Regions from separate parts of the Homo sapiens genome. Here region 1 is linked to region 2. The links are contacts of gene promoters, found by promoter capture Hi-C in blood cells and fetal thymus (Javierre and others, 2016). All regions are on one chromosome and are shown on one strand. The core of a region is centred on a gene start or on the middle of the fragment in contact, and the rest is flanking DNA. Distances in the headings are between cores, read along the strand shown.

What was found. Contacts are between HindIII fragments. The CHiCAGO score rates a contact against its expected background, and 5 or more counts as called.
Region 1: a contact is called between a fragment that was not itself captured here and the fragment with the promoter of LINC01949 in region 2, in 1 of 17 cell types (M0 macrophages). The highest score is 5.8, in M0 macrophages.

Annotation. Positions count from the first base shown.
Region 1 is chr5:91,208,304-91,211,991 of GRCh38, forward strand. The region is part of intron 3 of LOC107986432 (a long non-coding RNA gene); the gene reads right to left. Among named protein-coding and RNA genes, the nearest start is that of LUCAT1, 100 kb to the right of the region's middle. The HindIII fragment of the contact is 2,160 bases long and covers 816-2,975 here.
Region 2 is chr5:87,237,768-87,241,622 of GRCh38, forward strand. LINC01949 (long intergenic non-protein coding RNA 1949) reads right to left here and starts at 1,434. Exons shown (of 3, transcript NR_130914.1): 1 at 1,299-1,434; 2 at 1,048-1,214. All of the region lies in intron 2 of LOC101929380 (a long non-coding RNA gene), which reads left to right. The HindIII fragment of the contact is 4,009 bases long and covers 1,192-3,855 here.

The DNA of each region.
Region 1 (3,688 bases), core at 646-3,145, 4.0 Mb after region 2:
CCTTCTTCCAATAGAAAGCTATTTCATCTAAATTGAAAATCTATTGTTGAGTGTAGCCACCTTTATCAATTATCTTAGCTAGATCTTCTGGATAACTTGCTACAGCTTCTCCATCAGCACTTGCTGCTTCACCTTGCACTTTTATGTTCTGGAGATGGCTACTTTCCTTAAACTTCATGAATCAACTTCTGCTAGCTTCACACTTTTCTTTTGCAGCTTCTTCACCTCTCTCAGCTTCACAAATTGAAGAGAGTTAGGTCTTGGCTCTAGATTAGGCTTTGGTTTAAGGGAATACTGTGGTTGGTCTGATCTTCTATCCAGACCACTAAAGCTTTCTTTATATCGGCAACAGGGCTGTTTCATTTTCTTATCATTCATGTTCACTGGAGTAGCACTTTTAATTTCCTGCAGGGAATTTTCTTTTTTTTTTTTTTTTTTTTCTGTTTTTGAGACGGAGTCTTGATCAGTCACCCAGGCTAGAGTGCAGTGGCGCAATCTCGGCTCACTGCAAGCTCCACCTCCTGGGTTCACGCCATTCTCCTGCCTCAGCCTCCTGAGTAGCTGGGACTACAGGCGCCCGCCACCACGCCCGGCTAATTTTTTTGTATTTTTAGTAGAGACAGGGTTTCACCATGTTAGCCAGGATGGTCTCGATCTCCTGACCTCGCGATCCACCTGCCTCGGCCTCCCAAAGTGCTGGGATTACAGGCGTGAGCCACCGCGCCTGGCGGAATTTTCCTTTGTAGTCACAGTTTGTTTGGCTTAGGCCACCCAGCTTTCAGACCATCTCAGCTTCTGACATGCCTTCCTCACTAAGCTTAATCATCTATAGCTTTGATTTAGAGTAAGAGATAATGAGAGTCTTCCCTTCACTTGAACATTTGGAAGCCATTGTAGGGTTACTAATTGGCCTAATTTTAATATTATTGTGTCTCAGGGAAGAGGGAGGCCTGAGGAGAGGGAGAGAGATAGGGGAACAGCCAGTGAGTGGAGCAGTCAGAACGCATACAACATTTATTGTTTGCTGTCTTCTGTGGATGCAGTTTGTGGCACCCAGAACAATTATGACACTAACATCAAAAATAAAGAATATTATAATAATAATGAAAAAGTTTGAAATATTGCAAGAACTACCAAAATGTAACAGAGACATAAAGTGAACACATGCTATTGAAAAAATGGCACCAATAGACTTGCTCAATGCAGGGTTGACACAAATCTTCAATTTGGAAAAAATGCATTGTCTTCAAAGCGCAATAAACCAAAGTGCAATAAAACAAGATGTGCACGTACCATCTGAAGGACCTACCTGAGGCTGTTTTGTAGATTATTTTTTTGTAAGTAAGATTACACTCTAAAATAATGATTTAACATACATTATAGTAAATGCATCAACCGGTAGCATAATCATTCATTACCATTATCAAGTATTATGTACTATACAAAATCATATGTGCTATACTTTTATATAACTGGCCACACAGGTTTGTTTACACAAGCATCACCACAAATACATGAGTAATGAATGCAGTGTGCTATGACATTATGACGGCTATGATGGCATGGCACTAGGCAAGAGTAATGTTTCAGCTCCATTTTAATCTTATGGAAGTATATGTGTTCCATTGTTGACCAAGATGTCATGATGCAGTGCATGACTATATATTATCTGTAGAAATGAGATTATTTGGAGTCAATTAAGGCTACTATACCATTACGTTTTTTAGAACTGTAGAAATCTAAATTAATATTTCTACAGGACTTTTTCACAGACATTTTCTCATAATAACCCAATTCTTTTAAAGAAAATAAGAAGTGGCTTGTTTTCATCACCACTAATCTATAAAACAAAGAAATAAATAAAAATACGGTTGGTTTATACTTCAGATATATATCTTTGGTGATTTTCATAGAATCAAAAAAAAAATGAGGCCTCAAAAGCCATCATTTTAACATTAATTTTCCCAAATTAAGCTCACTTAATAATTTTTGAAATTGTGTTTATTTTCAGTTGAGTGGAGTATATTCAGTAAATCAATTTGCAATGCATTTGTTGCATCTACATCTCTCTTGCTGGTATTTCTCCTCTCACAGAATGGTTAGCACAGAAGAGACTTCCTCCACGGGACCCTGGCTTAGAAATGGTTGCATTTCAGAGCCAAAGTAGTATAAGCTGCCAAAATGATTCTGAGCAATGGAAAAAGAGTCCTCATGTATCCCTCACAGCTCATTAAAGAGTTTGCCCCACCATTATCCCCAGGCTTTTCCATCTTCAATGTCTTCCCCTTAATTGCACCCATTTCTAATCTTGATGCACATTTTCAAATGTTTCTTCTTCTCGAGAGACTTTTTCCTCCATCCTGCATTTTTTGCAGTCTCTAGCCATTTTGGAAAATTTCTTGAAAGAAGACATTTCCACATCTGTGCCTTCTTCTCATTCACCATAATCTGGCCTCCACTCCCACTCTTCTACTAGACTTTTCCAAAAGGTCTCCAAGGACTTCTATAGGAGCAAGTATAGAAGCCTCTTCTGGGCCAGGCGCAGTGGCTCACATCTGTAATCTCAACACTCTGGGAGGCCGAGGCAGGTGGATCACCTGAGGTCAGGAGTTCGAGGCCAGCCTGGCCAAAATGGTGAAACCCTGTCTCTACTAAAAACACAAAAATTAGCTGGCTATGGTGGCGCACACCTGTAATCCTAGCTACTTAGGAGGCTGAGGCAGGAGAATCACTTGAACCCAGGAGGCAGAGGTTGCGGTGAGCCAAGATCACACCACTGCACTCCAGCCTGGGTGACAGAGTGAGACTCCATGTCAAAAAAAAAAAAAAAAAAAAAAAAACTGCTCCATGGCAGTGTTTCAAGTGCCTGCTGTGACTGTGCTGTTCTGGACGCCAAGCCTTGCTTTGGTGTTGTTTTCCTCCTACTTTTGTCTCTCCTTTCATTTGATTGGCTGCCAAAATGTAAGAGGCCTCTAAGCTTCCTCACTTAGCACTCCTTTTACCCCGGCTAATCTCTCTTGCTTTCATTCAGACCTGTACTGAGACTGCTATACACTGATAGTACTCCACAATTTATCCTCCCTTTTTTTGGTCTGTAAGAGTCTGAGCATTTTATTTTTTCCAAATGAAAGCTCAACATTTCCACTCAGATGTGCCTCAGTCACCTCAGAATCAGCATTTCAAAAACCAAACTTTTCTTTCTTTTTATTGTAGAGACAGGGTCTTGCTCTGTCTTCACCCAGGCTAGAGTGCAGTGGCATGATCATAGCTCATGGCAGCCTTTAAACTCCTGGGCTCAAGCAATCCTTCCGCCCCAGCCTCCAGAGCAGCTGGGACCATAGGTGTACACCACCATGCTCAGCTAGCAACCTTTTCTTTCTTCTGCAAATTTTTCTTCTGCCTATGTCTTGGGCCCTTTTTGGGTGAGTAACATCATCATCTCCCTACTCACACAAAATAAAGAACTGAAGTAAGCTCTGATGTTTGTTCCCACCTAAGCCCCTTCTTTAAATTGCTTAGTCTGTTTGTGAATTCATCCTGTCTTCTCCCTTTCCTCTGACTCTGCCCTTGCTCAGACTATCATCATCAATGTTCTGGACAATACTGGTAGCTCTGAACATGTCCCCTCACTTCCAATCTTTCCTAATACAGCACATCCTGATCCATACACAATGAGACTTTTATCTCT
Region 2 (3,855 bases), core at 184-2,683:
CTAAAAGTCTTAAAGTTTTGCTCTTTGTATTTAAGTTTCTTTCATCTGAAGTATATTCCATGTAAATAGAGTGAGGCAGAGATCTTTCTGACTTTTTCCCATGTGACTAACCAATTATCCCGGCATTATTTGTTATTTTTTTATTTTACTCCTGAATTTTAATGTCACACTTGTCATACACCAAGTTATCAAATATGTGAATCTGTTCTGAGTTTTGTTTTGTTGGTCTATTAATTTTATTTCTGACACAATAATACAGTTGTATAATTACAACATTAGAATATCAATATCTGGTAAAGTAATATCAGTGAAACTGATTTATGAATTGCATGTAAAAATTTTAAGGCCACCATGTCAATGTAATTAGCACTGGCCTACAGATAACCTATTGATTTGACCACTTTGCTCTTGTATGTAGAAACTTTGCTTAACTCTCCTATTCCAGTTCTTCAGCTGTACAATTATTGGATTTTCTATAAAAAAAAATATTCAAATAATCAATATTTGATCTTCCCTAATCCATATAACTGGTTATTTCTTTCTTATTTCATTGGTTAGGAACTCCAGAGCAATGATGATTATTGGTGGAGATAATAAGTATTAATGCTTGTTCCTAATGTTAATGGGAATTTTATAACTCTCATACATTATTTCTAGGATAAATCATATTTGATCATAATGCATTTTTTAAAATGCTTGATTCAATTTGTCAACATCTTATGATACTTGCATGTACTCATAAGGAAGATTAACCTATAATTTTTCTTTCTCTTATTTTTCTAGTTCAGCTAACTAGAATATATTAACTTCATGAGAGAAACTACAGAATTTTCCTCTTTTTCTGTATTTTGTAGCATTTTGTGCTAAAGAGATTTTTCTGTGCTTTGAATGTTTGTTGGTAATCCCTGTGTAAAATTTTCTAGACTTACTGTTATTTATTTTGGGTAGGTTTTTGCTTACTAATTCAATTTTTCCAAAGGCTTTCTCCTCAGACATAGATTTACTCTTGAGTCAATTTTGGTAATTTAAATTTTTAGTGATGCCCACCTGCAAAGGGCCAGGTCTGGCATACAGTTTGAAATTTGCTGCCAGAGTCCCATTTTGCAATCCCGAACTTCTGGTGGAGACTGGGGTGTCCATGGCCCACTACCCAGTGGCGAGTAAACTCTTTGCTCCCAGACTGTTGCAAGAAGCTTAAAGGATGGCCTCCAGATCTGGAACAATTATGTTCTCATATTAATAAAAAGATTAACAATATTTTTAAAAATCTGTCATTGAGAAACTGGCCAAGAACCTACCTTGAAGAATATCTTAATAGGAGATGAGATCACTGTAAGAAATGAACTTCTAAATAAATTTGAATAGGAAATTCAGTATTAAGAACAAACCAACAATTCACTCAAGGAACTCTGTAAATCTCTTGAAGAATATTATAAAATGTGGAATATCTCAAAGAAAACTTTCCTTCCCATGTGCCTCAAATAACAGGTCTCAAACTCCTAGCCTCAATCAGTCCTCCCACCTCAGCCTCCCAAAGTGCTGGGATTACAGGTGTGAGCCACTGTCCCCAGCCATAATTTATTTATATTTTATTTCTTTAGCTTTTTCATCTTCTATCCTGTTTCATATAAAATTCAAACTTTTTTGGATAAATTTTTTAATCAAATGCTTCCGTTTAAGTTAGTTTTAGCATTTATTTTTATAAAATTTTAGCATGTAATTTTAAAATAATTTTTTATATTTTAAGATCATACCTGTCCATGTGACTCCAATTCAGCTGTAAAAGATCTGAGAAATATTTGATCTGTTGTCCAGGAAGAAAAGGAGAGGAGGAACATTCTTCTATCATTTCACTCTTACCTGTATATGAAGAATATACTTACCTCCCCCGAAGGAGGACAATCTGAAGTCCCTTCTAGTTAGTGCATTCAGCTCAAAGCCCAAGACATTCAAGAAATGTGTCATCTTCTCCAATACGTGAATGTTTGAATTCTCCTGAAATAAAATCCCATGAACTGAAGAAATATCCTGTCTTTACCACCACTCCCATATACACCTACATGTGAGGGTGCATGCATGCACATGAACACACACACATCTAATATACAAAATGAATCAAGGACAGAAGTAGCTATAATAGGAATCTGATTAGTAAGGGTAGGAATGGAAGGCAAGCAACAGTAACCAGTGCATATAGATCTTAAACAACAGATCGCCAAACACACTGCAGAATGATAAGAGGGTCTGAAATGTAATACATCAAGTGTTAATGTGCCAGACCTAGAAGTGGCAAATGTCACTTGGACATATTCCACTGGCTAAAACTCAGTTACATAGGCCCAGTAAAATGATAAAAAGCCTATGTAAGTTTTGGTTGTATGCCAAAAAAGAAGAGGACAAAATGGATATTGATGTGCACTAACAGTCTGTGTCATCATGGTGACATGATCCTTCTATCATGAAGTAATCAACCTCTTTAGAGAAAAATCATTATTAGACTTAAAGTTGTTTTCTAATATCAATATTACTGTCAGATCTATTTTGGTCCGGTTCCTGGTGTACAGTTTTTCAACCTATGACAGTAAGTTCTCAACGTTGTTGATAGGGTCTTGGAAACTTCAACTTCAAGTGAGATGCCATGTAACAAAACCAGTTTTACTATAGGCTAATTAATATAAACAAGAATTAGTTCCTATGGCATATTTGTATCACAAAAACATCAACAAATTTCTAAGTGAAGACTTGAAACACTTCTAATGTTGAATATTGATATAAATGTAAGCTATACATACATTTAAGAAAAATCAACAAAAATAAGTAAGCAATTTGTCCAATTTTTGGTGAATCAGTGAGTGACAGCCGTCATCCTGGTGGTAGGTTAAATCAAGAAATAAATGTTTGTAAAGTGAAAATTGTCAGGAGTACCTCCTACCAACACACAGTTCAAAAACAAACAATATTCAATAAGGCAGACTCTCTAAGCACTTTCATACAACATTTCTTATTATTTTGCATTTGTATGATTATCAAATACTTTATATTTTATCTTATAATAATTTGTATTCATTTATTCTTTCATTTTCCAACCCACTTACTCCAGTTCAGGTTACAGGAGGCCAAAGCCCATTCAGCAGTTCAGGATACAAGGTGGGAAGCAACCCTGGCCATGACACCATCCCAACACAGGGCACACTCATACATATACCCACACTCACCTTGACTGAGATCGCTGACACATGCCCACCCACCTGAAATACACATCTTCAGGATGTGGGAAGAAACTGGAGTACCTGGAGAAAATCCACACAGACATGGGGAAAAGGTGCAAATTTCACAAAGACATTAGCCTCAACCATGAATTAATTTTTTTTCCCATCAACATTATAACAAAGTAACATTATCTGAGCACCTGATATAATTTCAGTCTTTTGAGATTATTACTATTATGAGACAAAATCTCACTTTGTAGCCCTGGGTAGAATGTAGTGGTGCAACCTCGGCTCACCGCAACTTTCATCTCTGGGTTCAAGTGATTCTCATGCCTCAGCCTCCAGAGTAGCTGGGATTACAGGTGTGTGCCACCATGCTTGGCCAATTTTTGTATTTTTAGTAGAGATGGGGTCTTACCATGTTAGCCAGGCTGATCTCGAACTATTGAGCTCAAGCTATTCACCCGCTTCAGCCTCCCAAACTGCTGCGACTACAGGCAAGAGCCACTGCGCCCAGCCTCTTGAGATTATTATATTTTGGGTGTGATTCTTTAAAAAAGCATATAGCCTAAACTTAGTTTTTTTAATCCAATCTGGGAATCTCTGTATTTTTCAGGTGAATTTAATCCATTTTCAGTTTTACAAG